Linked DNA regions of Homo sapiens: all the other regions are linked to region 3. Evidence: promoter capture Hi-C in 16 types of primary human blood cells and fetal thymus (Javierre and others, 2016). All regions are on one chromosome and are shown on one strand. The core of a region is centred on a gene start or on the middle of the fragment in contact, and the rest is flanking DNA. Distances in the headings are between cores, read along the strand shown.

Region 1 (2,966 bases), core at 447-2,946, 430 kb before region 3:
CTCCCAAAGTGCTGAGATTACAGGCTTGAGGCACTGTGCCCCCACCTAGACCTATCTTTTAAAAATGCAAAACTGTGTCATTTTCCTGGTTAAACCTTTTAGTGGTTCCCCAAACCCCCTGGGATAAAGACTTAACTCTTTACTGAACCCTCCAAATGCTCCAGTCACTCTTAAGTTTCTCAGTTCTTTGAAGAGCCAAGTGCTCTCTGGATTTGGGGCCTTCACACATGCTGTTCCCTCTGCCTGAAAAGCTCTTCCGCTCCCCACCTCTTTAGCCAATTCCCACTCAGGCTTCAGACCTCAGCTCAATTGCTGCCACTCCAGAGAGACTTTCCTAACCCTCCAGGTCAGGGAGAGAGGCCTCATTTTTCCTCCCTCAGCCTCCTGTGTTTTCTTGAATTTCTTAGCTTCATGGGTACAAGTTCTTCCCCCGACTGGGCTGGGATCCCTCAGGGGAAATGGACCATGTTTATTTCTGCGTCCCCAGGTCATAGCAGAGCATCCTGGTGCATGGAAGATGCTCACTATACATGCTTTTTTCTTTCTTTTTTTCTTTATTCGGATAATATAACTTCTTTCTTTAAAGTTTCGCTTAGTATTTTGTTGTGGTAAAATGCACATAACATAAAACTTACTATGTTAATCATTTTTAAGTGTACAGTTTCCGTGGCATTAAGCACACACATATAGTTGTGCAATCAGTACCACCATCCATCTCCAGAACTTTTTTCATCTTCCCGAACTGAAGCTCTGTACCCATTAAACACTAGCTCCCCATTCTCTGTCCACCCCTCGAGCTTCTGGCAATGGTCATTCTACTTTGTCTCTACAGATAAAGTTTATTTGGAAATAATTTTTCTTTCATGGCCTTGACATTTTTGAAGAGTACAGTCCAGCTCTCTTCTAGACTGTCCCTCCGTCTGGATTTATGTCATTTCTTCATGATTAGATTCAGTTAGGTATTTTTGGCAGAAACATCATAGAAGTGATGCTGTGTCCTCAGTCTATTAAAAGAGGCACAAGATATCAGTTTATCTCATTATTGATCAAATTAACTGACTATATGTTTAAGGGAGACAAGCCAGATTTCCTCACTGAGAGATTCCCTGTTTCTCTTTGCAATAATTAAATGTGAGAAACTTATTTTGAGACAAAGTCTCACTCTGCACTCTGTCCCCCAGGCTGGAGTGCATTGGCACAATCTCGACTTACTGCAACCTCTGCCTCCCTGGTTCAAGCGATTCTCCTGCCTCAGCCACCCAAGTAGCTGGGGTCACAGGAACCCACCACACCTGGCTAATTTTTGTATTTTTAGTAGAGACGGGATTTCACCATGTTGCCCAGGCTGGTCTTGAACTCCTGACATCAAGTGATCCACCCACCTCGGCCTCCCAAAGTGCTGGGATTAAAGGTGTGAGGCTGTGTGAATGATGTGTGCTCCAGGGAAAGTCATAGAATATATCAGTTTCCCCCTCTGTAAAGTGTGGACAGAAGTATCCTAACTGATATTACAGCTTAAGAAAGTAAAAGTGTTCAAGCGGCCTCTGGGCGCCAGCAAAAGAGGCTGGGGATTAATTTCCTGCGCGCTCCACAAGAGGCGGGGCTGGGCGGGGCGGGGGCGAGAGGGAACGAGGGCGCCTGCGCGGAGAGGAGTGACCATAGAGTCGGTCCTCCAGAGACAGAGGGGCCGGAAGTTCTCTTCACGGAGCCGCGCGGCTGCGGGGGCGCAAATAGGGTCAGTGGGCCGCTTGGCGGTGTCGTTGCGGTACCAGGTCCGCGTGAGGGGTTCGGGGGTTCTGGGCAGGCACAATGGCGTCTCGAGCAGGCCCGCGAGCGGCCGGCACCGACGGCAGCGACTTTCAGCACCGGGAGCGCGTCGCCATGCACTACCAGATGAGGTATGAAGTGAGGCGAGGAGCACGGAGGCTTTCTCCCCCGCTGGAGCCTGCGGGGCTTGGGGAGCGACGCCGGCCCGGCCTCAGGGTCTTGCTCCCCAGCCAGCCCCCGCTCACCTGCCAAGTCCCCTCCTCCCGTGACGGCTTCGGGCCTGTCCCCCATCCTGGAAAGCCCCGTGGCCCCCGCGAGCTCCACCCCTTGTTCCGCCCGGTGCCTTGAGGGGATCCAGCCCCGCGTGGGCTCCCGCCCTGCGTGGGCTCCCGAGTCACGTCGATGCTGGCCCCGCTGTATCACCTTCGAAACCGAATTTCTAATTTGAGCCTCAGCTTCCTCATCTGTAGAGGGAGAGAATAATCTGCCTTTTAGGTTTTGGTGAAAGATTAATCAGTAATTCGTGTAAAGAAAGTAGCATAAGGCCTACCACGTAATATATGGTAGGTGTTATATTTTGGGCCGTTTGGGGGGATATAGACAGTAAAAGGCAGCCTTTCCTAAGGACGCCTTGCCTAAAATGAATTTTATAAACACTCCCACGTAAGGGGTATTTCTACATTCAATTACTAGTTCGACAAATACTGAGCTTCCAAACATCATACACTGCTAGACACTAGGTTATAATAGTGAGCAAAAGCAGACGTGGTCTTTGTATACATGTTATACCTTCAATAAACAATTTTATTAAAGAAAAAAAAAACTGTTCCCTGCCTTCATGGAGCTTGAAGTCTAGAGATGACTGTTTTTTTTTTCCAACCTTTCCACATTTTCTACAATAAATATTTTTAAATAAAAATTTTAAAATTTTTACTTCCTTAAATCCATTGATCTCTCCCAGAATGTTCTTCACATCTCTCTCTCCAGAGTTTTAAAGAATGACAAGCTCTTTGAACTCTCATTTGTTTCACATCTCTAGGCCCCGGCTGAAAGGGCCCTCACAACTTAAGCAGGTGTTTTCATGCCAGCCCAGAGTAGAAACATTGCCTTTAGGGATATGAGGAGGATACGTTTGGGACGTGAGAGAATTAGAAGAATAAGATAAGTATGTACTTCTTTTGGATGAAAAAATCTAGCTG
Region 2 (2,957 bases), core at 323-2,822, 340 kb before region 3:
TAGGAGAATCACTTGAACCAGGAAGGTAGGGGGTTGCAGTGAGCCGAGACGACGCCATTGCACTCCAGCCTGGGGTGGGACTCCATCTCAAAAAAACAACAACAACAAAAAACAAACAAACAAACAAAAAAACTGTGCTTGGCTTCCTGTCTCTACTCAATACAAACCACTTGTTTTAAACAGTCAGTACCCCGGGGTTTCCCCTGTCACACTACACATATTCTAGTTTCTCCACATGCTGGGAATGTTCCAGTGCCCTTTCCTTTCCGAGTTCTACTCCATCATGCCTTAACATCTTCAAGTCTCAGCATCTCCACGAAGCTTTTCCCAATGCCTGGAGCCCTCGTGGAATTCTCTCTGCTTCCTCCTCCTGAGCTCATTATGCTATACAGTTCTCTACTTTATCTACAGGGCGCAACATGTAATACATTCTGCTCCCTGGATGCTAGTCTAAAGATACTCAAAGTGTGGTGAATGCTAGTCTGTGATAAGCACAGACACTGAGAGTAAGGATTTAGAGACTTTTATAATAATTTGACATTGTCACAACATCCAGATACATGATCAAAATATTTTACAAAAGTATTAGCCTATAAGAGATTAGAAATTTAAAAAACAAAAAACCCCAAAACTGGTCCTTCACCATTGACAGTATAAGAAGCACTGGGTCTAGAGTAATGGGTAAAAACTTAAGCTCTGGAGTTGAACACATGGGTTCAATCCCACCTCTGCCACTTATTAGCCATGTGATCTTGAGCAAGTCACTTAAATTCCCTAAGTCTCTATTCATATTCTGTACAAGGGTAGATTTATTCTTTCATTGAACAAATATTTCTTGAACTTCTAAGTGCCAGGTGACATGAAGAACGGTGATCAAAATACAAATATCTTACGATGGTCAAAGTCTAGTGAGGGGGAAAGACATTAACCAAATAACCAGAGGAATAAATGTGAAATTCAATTATCATGTCCTAGAGAGAGATGGATGGTATTGCAAGAGTGCATAACCAGGAGGTGATGGAGTCTGGAAAGTCAAGGTCTGAGAGTTTGCTGAGGATGTAGGATTAAGCTGGACTCTTCAGGATGAGTGAGGATTACCTTGGCAAAGTGCTGGTGTAAACAAAATGGGCAAAAGCCTCGTAGAAGTAAACACTCTGCCTCTGAGGACCTGAGAAAAGGCCACATGACTGGAAAAAGGAGAACTATAGAAAATGTGATGAAAACAAGACTTGAGAGGTGTGCAAGAGCCAGACTATACAAAATCATGTGGTCTCACTGTATTTTTTTTTTTTTTTTTGAGATGGAATCTCACTCTGTCTCCCAGGCTGAACTGCAATGGCGCAATCCCAGCTCAGTGCAACCTCTGCCTCACGAGTTCAAGCAATTCTCCCGCCTCAGCCTTCAGAGTAGCTGGGGTTACAGGCGCGCACCACCATGCCCAGCTAATTTTTGTATTTTTAGTAGAGATGGGGTTTCACCATGTTGGCCAGGCTGGTCTCGAATTCCTGACATCAGATGATCCGCCTGCCTCAGCCTCTCAAAGTGCTGGGATTACAGGCATGAAAAACCATGCCCAGCCAGGTCCCACTGTATTTTGATCACTGTCTTAAGAGCAAAAGGAAACTAATGAAGGATTTTTTTTTTTTTTTGAGACAGGGTCTTACTCTGTTGTCCAGGCTGGAGTGCAGTGGTACAATCTTGGCTCATGGCAACCTTGACCTCTGGAGCTCAAGTGATCCTCCCATCTTAGTCTCCCGAGTAGCTAGGACTACAGGCACACACCATGACACCTGGCAAACTTTTGTGTTTTGTTTTTTTTGTTTTTTTTTTTTTTGTAGAGACAGGGTCTCACTATGCTGCCCAGGCTGGTCTCTAACTCCTGGACTCTAGTGATCCACTTGCCTCAGCCTCCCAAAGTGCTGGGATTACAGGCGTGAGCCACCACACCCAGCCAAGTGGAGAATTTTAGGCTGAGTTCTTCACATATATGATCTTATATGACTGTACCTGGCACATCCTAAGCACTAGATTAATAGTATCTGTTATTTTTTCCTTTGCATATTTTATTACTTGAACAGAAACTCTGAGAGCAGGGTCGTGACCTTGTCTTACACTGTACCCCACAGCATGCAGCAGAGTGCAAGGCACATGATAGGCCATCAAAAGGCCATTGTTCACAGCCAGGCGTGGTGGCTCTCGCCTGTAATCTCAATACTTTGGGAGGCTGAGGTGGGAGGATTGCTTGAGCCCTGGAGCCCTGGAGTTCAAGAACAGCCTAGTCAACATAATGAGACCACTGTCTCCACAAAAAAATTTAAACATTAGCCAGGTGCAGTGGCGTGTGCCTGTAGTCCCAGCTACTCGGGAGGCTGTGGGAGGATCACTTGAGCCCGGGAGATCGAGGCTGAAGTGAGCCATGATCGCACCACTGCGATCGCAGCCTCAATCACTGCAGCCTCAACCTCTTTAGTCCAGCCTGGGTGACAAAGCAAGACCCTGTCCCCAGAAAAACAAACGAAAAAACACTTGTCCAGTCTACGATAACTCAAGACTTTCCCAGGCAGTGTAATCAAGAGAAATTCATCTAAATCTCCTACAATTACACTGCTGAACAATTTTGTAAAAATGAAGTTGAGTATTGTGACCCTGAGGTATTTCAAGACCTAAATAAGCAATCTTAAATTATCCTGTATTTTCTAACACTCACTTTCTTAAGCTGAGATCCATAGCTGTGTTCTCTGAAGTTTGCAAATTCTAAAAGAAATTTTTAATTTTGTATTTTTATTTTCATGAATATCTAAAAATAAGTCTCTGTACTGTTATAAAGCTTTGTAATTTGCAACTGAAGGACATCTTTTATTTATTTATTTATTTATTTTTTGCAGAGACAGGGTCTTACCATGCTGCCAAGGTTGGTCTCAAATTCCTGGGCTCAAGGGATCCTCCCATCTCAGCCC
Region 3 (2,892 bases), core at 392-2,891:
GAAAGCACTTGCCAAAGTCACAGAGCTAGTTCAAGGCAGACCTGGGAAAAGAGCCCCATCCCCTAACCTTCTAATGCTGAGTCCACAAAACTTCACTCCACCAGGCTGCCTGTCTAGAATGTAAAGCAGTTGTTACACTGAGTTCTGTAAAGCTGCGGTTAAGTAGGTTCACGAAGAAAGTTTACTGAGAGGTAGTTTCAACCAGGTTACCAAAGGACCTTAGAAATAATCAGCATTTAATTCTAACCACTCTCACCCACCAGTCAGGGTTGATGAACCACACTTCTGAATGAGAGAGAGAGAGAGAGAGAGAGAGAGAGAGAGAAGGCGGGGGGGGGGGGGGGGGAGGAAAGAGGGAGGGGGAGAGAAAAGGACGGAAGGAAGGAGGAAGGGCGGGAGAGAAAGGGAGAGGGAGAGGAAGGGGGGAGGAAGAGGGAGCGGGGAGAGAGAGAGAGAAGAGAGGGAGGGGGAGAGAGAGAAAGGGAGAGGGAGAGGAAGGGGGGAGGGAGAGGGAGTGGGGAGAGAGGGAGGGTGGGGAGAGAGAGAGAGAGAGAGAGAACTTCTTAGAGTACTTCTTCCCAGGGACCTGGTATTATCTGGTCCCTGTTAACACCTGCACTCAAAATAATTCACCTCTTTGAGATCAGATAATGAGTTAAAAATTCATTTAGGATGAGCTGAATGTCAGAGCATAAAAGCCTCAACTCTAACCTGCAGTGGAAGAGCCAGAGGTGAGTGATTTACACCTAACCCTCTGCAGAACAAGAACACAGTGTTCTGATTTCTAGGTTCCTGCAGGTTCCCTCAAACCTGCTGCTGAGACACACCCATGTTTCTAAAAGAATGCATGTACTAGATATTCCAGGCTCAGCCCAGATACTTCCATTCTTTAGTTCTCCTTCAGTCATTCATTCACTCAAGGAGTAAGTGTGGAGTGAATGTACACTGCAGATGCCACAGAGACTTAAAAAACCCTGAGCCCCTGCCTTCGGAGGGTCGTTCAGGCCATCTTTACGTTTCCCGAGGTGCCCATCCTACCTGGGGGCCCTACCCCGAGCAACAGTTCAATCATCTCTGCTGGGAGCTGCAGTAGGCGGCAGAAAGGAATGGTTAGGAGGGTTCAAATCTCGGCTCTACTACCACTTAAGCAGCTGTGCAAGAGGCTCCACGTCTCCGAACCTCAAGTGTCCTCATCTGTAAAGTGTTGAGAAGAATAGCACCTTCTTCACAAGGCTGTTAGCAGGCGGAGATTACGAACAATGCTGAGGGCTCGGTATACAGTAGCTCCTCTGCTGTTCCTCGTTTTGTTTTCAATTGTTGACCGAAAAGAAGGAAGGGAGACTGGCAGGAGACGCAGGAGCGGCGCGCCCCGCAAAGTCAGGGAGGTTCCTCGGCCTCACCTCTGGACTCCCCTCGGAATGGTCCGCAAGGACGGGGCCAGAGCCCCCCAAATCTCTAAGCGGTGGAGGGGAGCTGAACGGCTCCAGCTTGGGATTTGGGACTCAGGACGGCCGAGGAACCCGTGAAGGCCGCGACCGTGGCCTTCACCCTGCTAGGCCTCCTCAGTACCAACACTCACCATGATTGCGGCGGTGGCTGCTCCAGGTCTCGGACGTGGCAGCTCCCGGCGGCGCCTCGGAACAGCTCACTTCCGGCGCCGGGCCCGACGGGCCGTGGCGTAGGAGCCTCCGGGCAGCAACGCGCTCGGCTCGCACAGCAGTTCCGCGCCTTCCAGAGGGCGCGCCCCGCCCTCCCGTGGCCCAGCCCCTATCCTCCAGTGACGTGCGAGACCAGAGGGCTGGGGCTCTGGTTGCCGCAGTTACCCTGACCCGGAGGGCTTTGGAATCTGAAGCTCTGGTGGGTCTACTCTCCCGACCAAGTCTGCCCTTTTCCTGAGATCCATAAATGAAAGAAAGGATTAATATAACTATCGGCCGGGCGCGGTGGCTCATGCCTGTAATCCCAGAACTTTGGGAGGCTGAGCTGGGGGGTGGATCACCTGAGGTCAGGAGTTCGAGACCAGCCTGGCCAACATGGTGAAACCCCGTCTCTACCAAAAATACAAAAATTAGCCGGGCATAGTGGCGCGCGCCTGTAGTCCCAGCTACAGGCTGAGGCAGGAGAATCGCTGGAACCCGGGAGGTGGAGGTTACAGTGAGCCGTGACTGCACCATTGCACTCCAGCCTGGGCAACAGAGAGACACTCTTGTAAAAAAGAAAAAAATCTATCTATCTATCTATCTATCTATCTATCTATCTATCTATCTATCTATCATCTATCTATCTGCAGCTTCACCCGCCTCACTACGGCTCTGGGTGCGACTGGTCTTATGATGAATGTTGTAGGATGAGTGACATCTTAGGAGTAAGTAGACTGTCCTAGTGCTTCCTTGTTGTAGTCTCCCTCTCAGTACCCAAGGACTGGGACCAGGGCAGAGGAGGCCAGGGAATGCCCCTCGCCAGAGGCTGGGACCTCTGGCCCTGCCATCCCTAACCCCTATATAGGACTGCCCCTTCCAAACCGATCCCCTGGGGTCCTGAGTAAGTCCCATCAAGGAGACCCCCCTAGGCAATGAAGGATCTCAGCCAGGCTCCTGCAGCTAGAGCCCCAGACCTAATCCTCAGGGTCCCCAACCCCAGGTCTCTGGCTTCACAAGGTAGGGCAGCTGAAGGCTCCCCACAAGCGCAGTGAGAATGCCACACTGGAGGACAGAGCCTGGGCTCCCCGCCTCAGCCACATATGGTCTAGCCCTGGGCCCCTTGTGACATTAAGGAGGCAGATGAGCTGGGGGAGGCCTTGGCTCCCCTTGGGCAAGTCACAGTCCTTCAGTTTCCTCTGCTGAAACTGGGAGTAAGGACCCTAGCTGGAGATGGTCACTGCTTGAAGGAAGA
Region 4 (2,922 bases), core at 422-2,921, 380 kb after region 3:
CCGAAAGTGCTTACCGCGTGTGCCAGGCACTATTCTGAGACTTTGACTTGTCTTAGTCCTTGTCATTCTCCCAAAAGTACTCATGAGGCAGGCACTCTTAGGATCGCTTTTATAGATGAGGAAACTGAGACAGACAGAGCTGAAGCCACTTACCCAAGATCACAGCGACACAATTAGAAAGCACTGACTCGTTCCCAGGCAGAATGGTATAGAGAGGATGGAGCATCGCACAGGTGCAGCTCATTGCTGATGTTTGTCTTTGCACACGGACACACTAAAAGGACCTGTTCAGCCTTTCCAGGTTCATCTGCTTGCACGGTCATTCACTTGGGCTCTGCCCAGCACAATCTTTGGTCATTTTCCTAAGTCCCACTTTTTATTTTTAAATAAGGAACCGGGTCATTACATCTCCCCAGAATCCTGCCTAGATGTTATGTTACAGTGTCACAGTATTTATAGCACCTGAGCTGCTGCTGGAAAAAACAGGGAGGCATTTTCTGTCCCTGTCATATTCATTCTCCTAAGACCAATGGATATTCCCTTTACTCTGTAATGAGATTAGCGGAGGCTTGTGCATTCCCCCACTCCCATCATTCCTTTTCTCTGTAATTTAGGTCTGCTTCCTATTTCTCGGGTCACAGAGCCCTCTGGAAGCCTGATGGAAGCTATGCAGCCCCTCTCCTTATGGCCCTGTGAAATGCCCAGCCTTACAGACGGTTATATATGAGGGAAGAAAGGCGGTCACAGGCTTTAGCACGAACATCCCCAGTCCTCCGTCATTCTTCAAAGGTCTCTCCCCTGGAGACAATCCTCAGCGGCTCACTCCAGCCTTTGCCCGCCCCTTTCCTGGCTCCACCCTCAGGAGGCGGGGTGTCTTCTCTTATTGGTCAACATGGGAAGAGGGATGGGCTACAATCAGCGTCTCTGCCCTTTCTCCTCCTGGGAGGGAGTCCTGCGCGCAGAAAGCTTGTCCTGGCTGTGCCCTCTGTACCTGAGTGAAGCCTACCTGGGCAGGACCTCCACATGGTCTTCCTTCTAGGGAATCAGTTAGTAGGCCCCCATTTGACCCTCACCCTCACATGAAGCCAGGACCTCCAACTTTGCTTCTATTCTATTAGGGAGAAAATTTATATTCGGCTCCTCTACCTGCCACTCATTTGTTCCTCAAATTGTTGGAGGAGTGTGGAAGAGAGATGCTATTTATGGGGCCCACTCCCACACCATCCCAACATCTGCCATTTCCTAGAACTCCGGATCAGCACACACCTTTTAGCCCGCACAGCCATTCTACTTGAGTGATTCTGGCTGGGCAGTTTATGGAAATCTCTTCGAGTCTCAGTTTCCTCATCTGTCAAATGGGGATTGTAATAACCATGTTTTCTAGCTTCTGCATTTGATGCTTTGACATCTGGGGCCTTGCTAACCCTGGAGGGGCTGTCCCTCCCAGAGAGAGCCAATTACTTGACATAGTGAATGACTGGCCCATGAGGGCCCCTTTCATAAATGCTCAGCCCATCTTCCCAACCGCTTCCTTTATGGAACCCCTGCCCACTGGGCCACACTGCCCTGCCCTAGTCACCCGGGGGCAGGTACCATACTACTAGGAACAGCCACTGTGTCCCAGAGCCTGCTGAAACTATTCAAAGTAGCCAACCCCGAGCCTGCTTACCCTGCCTCACCCATCCCTCCCTGTGGAGGCCACAGTAAAGGCTCTTACCCCATCTTCCCCTCACTCCCTCTGCCTCCTGACTGACCCTAGGGCTTCCCCATGTGGCCCTGTGTGGCATAGCATGTCCTCGCCTCTTAGGAATCTCAAGTAAAATTCTTTTTAGAGGCCATCATTTCCTGAGTGGTTGGCCTCGCCATAACTGAATAATAATAAAACCTATATTTTAAAATGATGATAATATCACCTACGTCTTAGGACTGCCATGAAAATAGATACACATGGAAAAGCATCTCACATAGCAAGTGGCATATGGCAGGGGCTTAAAACCATGCTAGTTTCTCTTCTCTCTGCCCTATCCATAGCTCTTCTCTTCTTTCTACCTTTTTCTTCACCCACCTCTTCCCTGCTGTCTCCTTCCAAGTATCAGCTACCTAATTTGTGGGACCCAGTACAAAATAAAAACGTGTAGCCCCCTGTTCAAAAACTGCTAAGAATTGCAATACGGTGACTGCAGAGCATTAAATCTAGCGGGAAAGCCCTTCTTAGCACAGGCCACACATCCACAAAGCTGGCCCTGCTCCCTCCTCCTTCCCGTCCAATTCTCTTCTGCTTCCCAAATATTTCTAGCCTGATTTTTCAATCCCAAGGCCCCAATAGTTAGCTCCCTTTTTTGGGTTCAGTTAGCAGATTCTAATTTTTAGATACCATAAAGCTTCAATAATTCCACTTAATTGGAGAGGGTGGAAAGGAGGCCAGTTTGAATTAATGAAAAGTCTGAGAAATAAGACATTACTAAAGAAATGCAGTTTTATTACTCTGCAACAGATTTATATGACAACAGGGGAGATACAAAGAAGATGGAAGGGAGGAGGAAGTTAGAGTTTCTTGTATGCAATTTAACACAAAGAAAAGATTTAATTTATAATAAGCATATTCTCTTATTTGCAAATTATGCTACTAAAAATCCTCTCCCTTAAGTAGGTTAATATTTCTCTTGCTGGCAATCAGTTTGCTTAGTGAAACTGTTCTGCTGTTACAAATGCTAGCAAAATTCTTCTGCAGTGATTCCATATAACAAAAAGATTTCCATGACCTTTCAGGCAGTCCATAGTATGGACTGGGTTATAGCAAATTCTTATCAAGAGAAATCCTGCACAACAAATTCTCTCTTTGCTCTCTACCTACAGAACAGTCAAATCTTCCAAACATCCTTCTAAAATTCAGAACTTACCATGTCCCATAGCACCAGGCTT
Region 5 (2,730 bases), core at 231-2,730, 390 kb before region 3:
GTAGCTGGGATTACAGGCGTGTGCCACCACGCCCGGCTAATTTTTTGTATTTTTAGTAGAGACGGGGTTTCACCGTGTTAGCCAGGATGGTCTTGATGTCCTGACCTCGTGATCTGCCCGCCTCGGCCTCCCGAAGTGCTGGGATTATATAAAGGCATGAGCCACCGCACCCGGCCCAATTCATTTCTGTTAAGTCTCAGTTTTTCTTCTCTGTGGAGGGTAAGTTTCTAACTCTTCTTCTCTGGGTCTCCCAGACATCCACAAGCGCTGGGCCCTCGTGTGGCTGGCCTGCCTACTCTTTGCCGCTGCGCTTTCCCTCATCCTCCTTCTCAAAAAGGATCACGCGAAAGGTGAGCGCTTCCCGGCTCCCCATTCCCCTGGGGGAGGACCAGAGTGGCTGTGGGAGTTCTCCGAGGGAAAGCGGCGGCCGAGCTCACTGGCTGCCTCCGCCCCTCTCCCCTAACAGGGTGGCTGAGGCTCTTGAAACAGGACGTCCGCTCGGGGGGTGAGTGGGAGCAAGCGCTGGGCGGAGGGCCGCCCCCGGGGAGCCAGGCCTGTGCCAGCTCACCTCTTCCCTCCCCATCTGTTTTCTCCGGCAGCGGCCGCCAGGGGCCGCGCGGCTCTGCTCCTCTACTCAGCCGATGACTCGGGTTTCGAGCGCCTGGTGGGCGCCCTGGCGTCGGCCCTGTGCCAGCTGCCGCTGCGCGTGGCCGTAGACCTGTGGAGCCGTCGTGAACTGAGCGCGCAGGGGCCCGTGGCTTGGTTTCACGCGCAGCGGCGCCAGACCCTGCAGGAGGGCGGCGTGGTGGTCTTGCTCTTCTCTCCCGGTGCGGTGGCGCTGTGCAGCGAGTGGCTACAGGATGGGGTGTCCGGGCCCGGGGCGCACGGCCCGCACGACGCCTTCCGCGCCTCGCTCAGCTGCGTGCTGCCCGACTTCTTGCAGGGCCGGGCGCCCGGCAGCTACGTGGGGGCCTGCTTCGACAGGCTGCTCCACCCGGACGCCGTACCCGCCCTTTTCCGCACCGTGCCCGTCTTCACACTGCCCTCCCAACTGCCAGACTTCCTGGGGGCCCTGCAGCAGCCTCGCGCCCCGCGTTCCGGGCGGCTCCAAGAGAGAGCGGAGCAAGTGTCCCGGGCCCTTCAGCCAGCCCTGGATAGCTACTTCCATCCCCCGGGGACTCCCGCGCCGGGACGCGGGGTGGGACCAGGCGCGGGACCTGGGGCGGGGGACGGGACTTAAATAAAGGCAGACGCTGTTTTTCTACCCATGTGGCCCACACGCGTCTCCGTTTCAGTGGCGGGGCTGGCAAACGTCATTCCCTAGCCCCGCGGCCCTTTAAAGCCCGGACAGGTGCAGCTCGGTGCCGCCTCTGGTTGGCTGGCGTGGGGTGACGTAATGGCACATGGCCCGTCGCCATTGGCTGGGCGGCAAGCTCCGCCCCCTGGACTGCGGCGCGGGTGGGGGTTGTGCGTTTTACGCAGGCTGTGGCAGCGACGCGGTGAGGAGACGGCCCACGGCGCCCGCGGGCTGGGGCGGTCGCTTCTTCCTTCTCCGTGGCCTACGAGGGTCTGGATCCTTCTCTGCCGGCTCGTGGGCCGTGCCTTTGCCCTTCTGCGAGGCCCTGAATCTGATCCCTTCCCTTCATATCCGGATCCGGGCTCCTCCCTCCAAGCCCGGGGTTCCGGACACCTCCCCCAAGACAACCCCTCTGGCCTCCTCTCCTTCAGTACTTGGAATCTGATCTCTTCTCCCTAATTCTGCGGATCCGGCCCCTAATATTCTTTATCAGACCCTCAGACAAGAGGCTGACTTCTGCCCCCTTGTCAAGGAGCGAGGCCACTTTCCTCTCCACCCCATGCTAGCGAGGATAACTTATTTCTCTTCTGGAATTGCATCTTATGCGCCTTTCCCCACCCATCCCCACAGCCCCTGCAATACCCAGTTTGGCCTCTTTTGCTTGTAATAACGCAGATCCCAGCGCCACGGCACCTTAGAACAGACCTTTTTCTTTCTCGCGTGGGGCCTGACTCCTTCAGTGAAGCCTCTCCACGCCCTCTATCTGCAGGTCCCCAGCCTGGGTAAAGATGGCCCCATGGCCCCCGAAGGGCCTAGTCCCAGCTATGCTCTGGGGCCTCAGCCTCTTCCTCAACCTCCCAGGACCTATCTGGCTCCAGCCCTCTCCACCTCCCCAGTCTTCTCCCCCGCCTCAGCCCCATCCGTGTCATACCTGCCGGGGACTGGTTGACAGCTTTAACAAGGTGGGTGCACCGGCAGCCTCGTTAGAGGGGAACACAGCGATTTAGAGTGGGGAACTCTGGGATGCAAATCTGCGTGGATTTAAGTTTCATCTTGGTCTCTTACTAGTTGTATGGCCCTAGGCAGGTTGCCTTTCTGTGCCTCAGTTTCCTAGTCAGTAGAACAGTGAAGTGCTAGCATGTGCCAGGCACTGTACTTAGCTATTACTAATTTTCTGTTTCCAGGGCCTGGAGAGAACCATCCGGGACAACTTTGGAGGTGGAAACACTGCCTGGGAGGAAGAGAATTTGTCCAAATACAAAGACAGGTAAGGGGCTGCTGGGGGAAGGGGTGTATATTCCCCTCCCCGCCAAATCTCTGCTCTGCTGGTGTAGGGCTAGGAACTCTTGGGGAGCACTTATTCATTCAACAAATAGCACTGAACATCTATAGTATAGCAGTAAACAAGGCAAGCAAAATGCCCCCTTCCTGGA
Region 6 (2,995 bases), core at 241-2,740, 450 kb before region 3:
CACCTACAAGTTCTACAAGTTCAGCCTTTTTTTTTTTTTTTTGAGATGGAGTCTCGCTCTGTCACCCAGGCTGTAGTGCAGTGGCACGATCTTGGCTTACCACAACCTCTGCCTCCCAGGTTCAAGCGATTCTACTGCCTCAGCCTCCCAAACAGCTGGGAGTACAGGCGCCTGCCATGCTGGCCAGCTAATTTTTTTGTTTTTAATAGAAACCGGGTTTCACCATGTTGGTCAGGCTGGTCTTGAACTCCTGACCTCAGGTAATCTGCCTGGCTCGGCCTCCCAAAGTGCTGGGATTACGGCGTGAGCCACCATGCCCAGCCTAAGTTCAGCCTTTCATGCTTGTCTTGAGTTGTCCAATACTGGAAAATGCCAGCTCACACTGATGAGAAGCTCCTACTCTTTGGGGCTACCTATGAGCCCACTTTGAAATCCCGAGGTTGAAAGTCCTGAACATGAAAGATAAGCTGTCTGGCAAGTTAGGATGGGCATTGATGGAGAAATGCCTTACAGCTTGAGTAGTACTTTTTCACCTAACCACTTAAACGGTTATTATAAAATGGGACACTGAGAAATTAGAAGAGTGACTTAATCCCACCTGCTCAATTGAAGCTCCTCTGATAGGTGAATTTAATTAGGAAATTGTTACTTATGGTATCAATTACATGGTCAGCTCAAGCCTCAAATTCAGCTGACTTTAGTTTCAAAATCAACTGCAATTTTGTTTTTTAAGGAGCCTGGGGTCTTGCTATTGTGCTCCAGCCTGGCCTTGAACTCCTGGTCTCAAGGGATGCTTCCACCCCAGCTTGCTGAGTATCTGGGACTGCAGGCACGTGTCACTGTGCCCAGCTGTTTTTTTTTTTCTTCTTTGGTAGAAAAAGTGCCATTAGCTGTAATCCTACATTAAAGAGAATACTTTGACAATAGATTCGTCTCTTCCTTTAGCCCCCTCCAACCTTCCAGATAAAACCCCACCCCAAAGAACACAGGCAAAGAAGATACATCAGCCTCAATAATTTATTGCAAACTCCCTAATATCACATGCTAGTGCGCTTGCGAATTCACTCAGGAATGTTCCGGGATGGGGGCCAGAAGGTAGAGAGCACCATGAAAGTACAGCCTGCGAGGCCAGATTGCTAAGGGGCAGACTTCATGCCAATGGAGGGACAGACTTCAGGACCAGTCTGGATGGGCTAAGCTGCCTTGGGCAGGAAGGAGCTGGATCAGGCCAGGAGCTTGAGGTTCTCCTTTGGCCAACCCACCCCAGGTTTCCAGCTCCTCCTCCTCACTCAGGGTCCTGCGCGGTGAGGGAGGTGTGGGGAGGTTCGCGGCTCTACAGCTGCCAGGCTTGTGGGCACTACCAGTTAAGCGTGAGGCCCCCAGTCAGTCCTTCACTGGGGAAAGCTTCCAAGGACTTGGGCTTTCACTGCAGTATCTTCAGACAGGTCGGGATAAGGGATGAGGCCTTGCCCTTGGGGGGCTGCCCTTCCTCCGTAGCATCGAGGAGCTGCTGCAGGTAACAGGAGGTGCCAAGCAGTACGTGGCCTGTGGCCTGCATGCTGAAGAGGGCCCAGCGGAAAGCTTCCCTGGGTGGAATGAGAGGGCACGCAAGTCAAAACCACGAAGTAGGTCGGGCATGGCGTTCACGCCTGTAATCCTAGCACTTTGGGAGGCCATGGAGGGCGGGTAACCTGAGGTCAGGAGTTTGAGACTAGCATGGCCAACATGGCGAATCTCTGTCTCTACTAAAAATACAAAAACTAGGCAGGCATAGTGGTGGGTGACTGTAATCCCAGTTACTCCAGAGCCTGAGGCAGGAGAATCGCTTGAACCCAGGAGGCGGAGGTCACAGTGAGCCGAGGTGGCACCACTGCACTCCAGCCTGGGTGACAGAGCAAGATTCAGTCTCAAAAAACAATCAAACAAAAAACACAAGGCTGGGCTTGGTGGCTCATGCCTGTAATCCTATAACTTTAGGTGGCCGAGGTGGGTGGATCATTTGAGGTCAGGAGTTTGAGACCAGCCTGGCCAACATGGCGAAACCCCGTCTCTACTAAAAAATACAAAAAATTAGCCGGGCGTGGTGGCAGACACCTGTAATCTCAGCTACTCGGGAAGCTGAGGCACGAAAATCACTTGAACCTGGGAGACAGAGGTTGTAGTGAGCTGAGATTGTGCCACTGCACTCCAGCCTGGGTGACAGAGTGAGTCTCTGTCTCAAAAATAAATAAATACATAATAAATAAAAACAAGAGTGTACCCCCTCCCTGCACCCCCTTATTCCCATGCTGGCCTGGAAGGGATTGGTTTCATTATGTTTGTTTTCTTCATTAATAACATTTGAATACCACTGAGGTGGTAGCACTAAAAGCATTTCATCAATTCTAGAGCGATGTGCAAATAGGAACAGATGCTGCAGATGGGATCAAGATTAGTGCGAGGACCTGCAATTCCACCTTAACTGAGATGCCCGGAACCTCCCTACTTTCTCATGCAAAACCCCAGCTCATTTCATAAGGCTTTTATTTTTCTACTACTACTTTGGACCAACCAGATTAATCTCCATAACATGGTTCTGCACCTTGAGACACTCTGTTCTAGACTCTGAGGCCTGTCCAAGCCACCTGCAGTCTAGCTCATGTTCAGAGTGCTGGACATGAAGACATCCATGCCTGGCATGAGCATGTACTGAGAACAGAACCTGAATCAGGCAGGCCTAAGTCCTAATCCAGTCTTATTAGCTGGGTGAACTTCAGCAAACTGCTCTAGCTTTGAGCTTCAGCTTCCTCATGGGTAAAATGGGATTGCACCTGCCACCCAGGGTCATAAGGCTGAAATAGCATAAAGCAATTAACATGGGGTTGGATGTTTGGAAAGTAGGGGAAATGGGGAAGCGGGAGCGGGTTCTAACCTCACATATTCTCATGCTTCTTGAGACATTTGGTTAGACTTTCAAAAATAAGTTTTAAGAAAAGTTCATTATATAGTACAAATG
Region 7 (2,856 bases), core at 1-2,500, 400 kb before region 3:
GCAACGGACACTGGCTGGAACCCCGGAATGAGCCTTCGACCCTGAAATCCTTGGGGTGCCTCGAGGACGACTGGCCGAAAAGCCGCATTCCCTGCCTCACAGGCCGGAAGTCCCAGCCCAGTCCCCGCGCGCGTCCCTCTTCCTCCTCATACTTTCCCTTGACTGAGAGCTCCTCTAACCCCTGTTCTGATGGGGGAGGGCGGTCTTCCCACTTCCTCTCCAGAACTCCAGAAAGAGCAGTGTGCTTATGCTTCAGTCCAGGCTGGAGAGGTTGGGGCCGGGGTAGGGAGGCAGGAGCCATGTCAGTTCTGAAGGAGGGTGAGGCGGTGGGGGATTGCAGGGGGCGGCTGAGAGAAAACCTCCTTGGGGGCCAGGGATTCCCTTTCCCACTCTGAGGCTCTGGCCAGAGGGAGAGAGGACTCTGGACCTAGGAAAAGAGGCTTTTGGCTCCAGGTGGTCAGGACAGTGGGGGTTGGGGGTGGGGTGGGTGGGTGCTGGCGGTGGGGACCAAGATCCGGAAAGATGAATAAAGACAAACATGACAAACTAAGAAAACACAGTGTGCTTCTCTAGTGTGGCTGGGGAGCCTGCCTGGTGGGGTATGTGTCAGTGTGCTGGCCCAAATCCTCTGTGTCCATACCGCATGGCATCCGTCACATTCTTACAAGCAATGCCTCCAAAAGCAAAGGAGGATGGGGCAATCTCCTTGATCCCCCCCAGTGATTCTTACAAGAGGAGAGGAAAACAGAGGCTTCGCCAGATGGTGTGTCCATCATCACACAGCCGGCCCACAGCAACAGCACAGATGGGACCCCTGTCTGCCAGGCTCTGGGGTCCTGGGTTCCTTCTACTCCCCATACCGCATTTGAGCCAGGCAGTGGTGAAAAGCCCACTTTCTGGTGCCTTTTGTCCGTGCTTTTAGAGCTCCTGTCCCACAAAGGGTTACCGAGGCCCAAAGAGTGTCTGAAGGGACCGAGTGTGCCTAGTAAGGGGAGACTTAGTGGGCCCAGGACTCCAGGGCTGTGTCCTCCTTAGGGCTCCGGGGGTGAGTAAGAGCTCCCTTACTCAGCCGTGATGCATTCGCTGTCTTCTTCAGGGGCCCCTCCCAGCCAGGTGTCAGCAGAGGGAGAGGAGAGCCAAAGAAGGAGGAGGTGCGGCCACCACCCTAGTCCAAGGCTGCTGGCTCCCAAGCCTGGTGTTGGTGGGAGGGACAGAGAGGGGCGGGAACAGCCAGCAGCCTGCCGGGAGCCAAAACGAAAGCACTCCGTGCTGGAAGTAGGAGGAGAGTCAGGACTCCCAGGACAGAGAGTGCACAAACTACCCAGCACAGCCCCCTCCGCCCCCTCTGGAGGCTGAAGAGGGATTCCAGCCCCTGCCACCCACAGACACGGGCTGACTGGGGTGTCTGCCCCCCTTGGGGGGGGGCAGCACAGGGCCTCAGGCCTGGGTGCCACCTGGCACCTAGAAGATGCCTGTGCCCTGGTTCTTGCTGTCCTTGGCACTGGGCCGAAGCCCAGTGGTCCTTTCTCTGGAGAGGCTTGTGGGGCCTCAGGACGCTACCCACTGCTCTCCGGTGAGTCTGGAACCCTGGGGAGACGAGGAAAGGCTCAGGGTTCAGTTTTTGGCTCAGCAAAGCCTTAGCCTGGCTCCTGTCACTGCTGCCACTGCCAGAACTGCCCTGTCTGGTCTGTCTGGTGCTGATGGTAGAAGAGAAGAACGGGGAAGGGGCAAGAGCTGGGTCTGTCTTTCTCTGGGAGGGTCTGGGAATACGGAGCCCCAGAAAAAGGTAGGTGGAGGTCTTAGGCAGAGAACAGTGCCTAGATGGTGGGGGCACAAATTCTGACTCTCCTTTCTTTCCTTCCCAGGGCCTCTCCTGCCGCCTCTGGGGTAAGTATCCCTACTTTTAAAAAGAATTTCCCAGGTTGGCCGAAGGGAGCAGAGCTGTCCCAGGCCCATGCCCTCCATGCCCACCTCAGCCTAGGACAGCCAAGTTCTTTGGCTCTCTGGGTATGTCAGGTGCCACCAAATTCTGGGCTTGGAACAGCTTCAGCTCCCACCCGCTCCTCCACACACAGACAGTGACATACTCTGCCTGCCTGGGGACATCGTGCCTGCTCCGGGCCCCGTGCTGGCGCCTACGCACCTGCAGACAGAGCTGGTGCTGAGGTGCCAGAAGGAGACCGACTGTGACCTCTGTCTGCGTGTGGCTGTCCACTTGGCCGTGCATGGTGAGCAAGTCATCCTGTGACAGTGCATGTGTACACGTGAGTGTGTCTGGGGTGGGCATGAGGGCCAGGGGATCTCTCAAGCAGTGCTAGGCATCCTCAGTGTTCTCCTGGAGGACACCAGCAGAAGGACCCCCAGGCCAGTGTGGTCTCCCCAGCCCCTGCTTCCCAGCACTGGGCTTTCCAGAAGGAAGCCAACGCCAAAGCCAGCCAGCCCAGAGCAGGGGGCCTCACCCAGGGCCTTGCTCTTGGGTCCTTCTAGGGCACTGGGAAGAGCCTGAAGATGAGGAAAAGTTTGGAGGAGCAGCTGACTCAGGGGTGGAGGAGCCTAGGAATGGTGAGGAGAACCTGGCTGGCCCAACTGCCCCATGCCAAGGCCTGGCCTGCCGCTCCTGGGCCTGACTGACCCCTGCCCTGTTGCCCACAGCCTCTCTCCAGGCCCAAGTCGTGCTCTCCTTCCAGGCCTACCCTACTGCCCGCTGCGTCCTGCTGGAGGTGCAAGTGCCTGCTGCCCTTGTGCAGTTTGGTCAGTCTGTGGTATGCAAAATAATAATAATCACCTTCTAAACCTAAAATCTATAAAACTTTTTCACATGCATTATCTCTTTGAGGATTACAAAAGAATTAAATT

Evidence for each region. The method cuts DNA at HindIII sites, captures the fragments that hold promoters and counts their contacts. A CHiCAGO score of 5 or more calls a contact.
Region 1: a contact is called between the fragment with the promoter of JAGN1 here and the fragment with the promoter of SEC13 in region 3, in 4 of 17 cell types (activated CD4 T cells, total CD4 T cells, monocytes and 1 more). The highest score is 5.4, in activated CD4 T cells.
Region 2: a contact is called between a fragment that was not itself captured here and the fragment with the promoter of SEC13 in region 3, in 2 of 17 cell types (fetal thymus and activated CD4 T cells). The highest score is 6.8, in fetal thymus.
Region 4: a contact is called between a fragment that was not itself captured here and the fragment with the promoter of SEC13 in region 3, in 2 of 17 cell types (M2 macrophages and endothelial precursors). The highest score is 5.5, in M2 macrophages.
Region 5: a contact is called between the fragment with the promoter of CRELD1 here and the fragment with the promoter of SEC13 in region 3, in 15 of 17 cell types (fetal thymus, endothelial precursors, total CD8 T cells and 12 more). The highest score is 9.8, in fetal thymus.
Region 6: a fragment that was not itself captured here is called in contact with the fragment with the promoter of SEC13 in region 3 in 1 of 17 cell types (activated CD4 T cells); the score reaches 6.3 in activated CD4 T cells.
Region 7: the fragment with the promoter of IL17RC here is called in contact with the fragment with the promoter of SEC13 in region 3 in 3 of 17 cell types (non-activated CD4 T cells, activated CD4 T cells and total CD4 T cells); the score reaches 6.2 in non-activated CD4 T cells.

The regions. Positions count from the first base shown.
Region 1 is chr3:9,888,914-9,891,879 of GRCh38, forward strand. JAGN1 (jagunal vesicle mediated transporter 1) reads left to right here and starts at 1,697. Exons shown (of 2, transcript NM_032492.4): 1 at 1,697-1,898. The coding sequence starts at 1,810. The HindIII fragment of the contact is 18,772 bases long and covers 1-2,966 here.
Region 2 is chr3:9,978,735-9,981,691 of GRCh38, forward strand. The region is part of intron 1 of EMC3 (ER membrane protein complex subunit 3); the gene reads right to left. Among named protein-coding and RNA genes, the nearest start is that of EMC3, 6.6 kb to the right of the region's middle. The HindIII fragment of the contact is 2,506 bases long and covers 320-2,825 here.
Region 3 is chr3:10,319,471-10,322,362 of GRCh38, forward strand. SEC13 (SEC13 homolog, nuclear pore and COPII component) reads right to left here and starts at 1,642. Exons shown (of 9, transcript NM_183352.3): 1 at 1,580-1,642. The coding sequence starts at 1,582. RefSeq lists enhancers at 1,308-1,607, 1,355-1,950 and a silencer at 1,798-1,877. The HindIII fragment of the contact is 12,357 bases long and covers 1-2,892 here.
Region 4 is chr3:10,702,327-10,705,248 of GRCh38, forward strand. It overlaps a transcript of ATP2B2 not described here. Among named protein-coding and RNA genes, the nearest start is that of LINC00606, 60 kb to the right of the region's middle. The HindIII fragment of the contact is 1,415 bases long and covers 965-2,379 here.
Region 5 is chr3:9,932,354-9,935,083 of GRCh38, forward strand. CRELD1 (CRELD disulfide isomerase 1) reads left to right here and starts at 1,481. Exons shown (of 11, transcript NM_001077415.3): 1 at 1,481-1,567; 2 at 2,067-2,259; 3 at 2,482-2,564. The coding sequence starts at 2,086. It overlaps IL17RC (interleukin 17 receptor C), which reads left to right. Exons shown (of 19, transcript NM_153460.4): 17 at 255-350; 18 at 467-505; 19 at 600-1,268. The coding sequence ends at 1,240. RefSeq lists silencers at 453-512, 1,093-1,422 and an enhancer at 1,523-1,892. The HindIII fragment of the contact is 19,312 bases long and covers 1-2,730 here.
Region 6 is chr3:9,865,711-9,868,705 of GRCh38, forward strand. CIDEC (cell death inducing DFFA like effector c) reads right to left here. Exons shown (of 7, transcript NM_001321142.2): 7 at 1,004-1,586. The coding sequence ends at 1,424. Among named protein-coding and RNA genes, the nearest start is that of CIDEC, 13 kb to the right of the region's middle. The HindIII fragment of the contact is 177 bases long and covers 1,403-1,579 here.
Region 7 is chr3:9,915,848-9,918,703 of GRCh38, forward strand. IL17RC (interleukin 17 receptor C) reads left to right here and starts at 1,251. Exons shown (of 19, transcript NM_153460.4): 1 at 1,251-1,573; 2 at 1,866-1,887; 3 at 2,076-2,228; 4 at 2,488-2,562; 5 at 2,653-2,762. The coding sequence starts at 1,469. It overlaps IL17RE (interleukin 17 receptor E), which reads left to right. Exons shown (of 16, transcript NM_153480.2): 16 at 1-550. RefSeq lists enhancers at 504-1,043, 973-1,162. The HindIII fragment of the contact is 19,830 bases long and covers 1-2,856 here.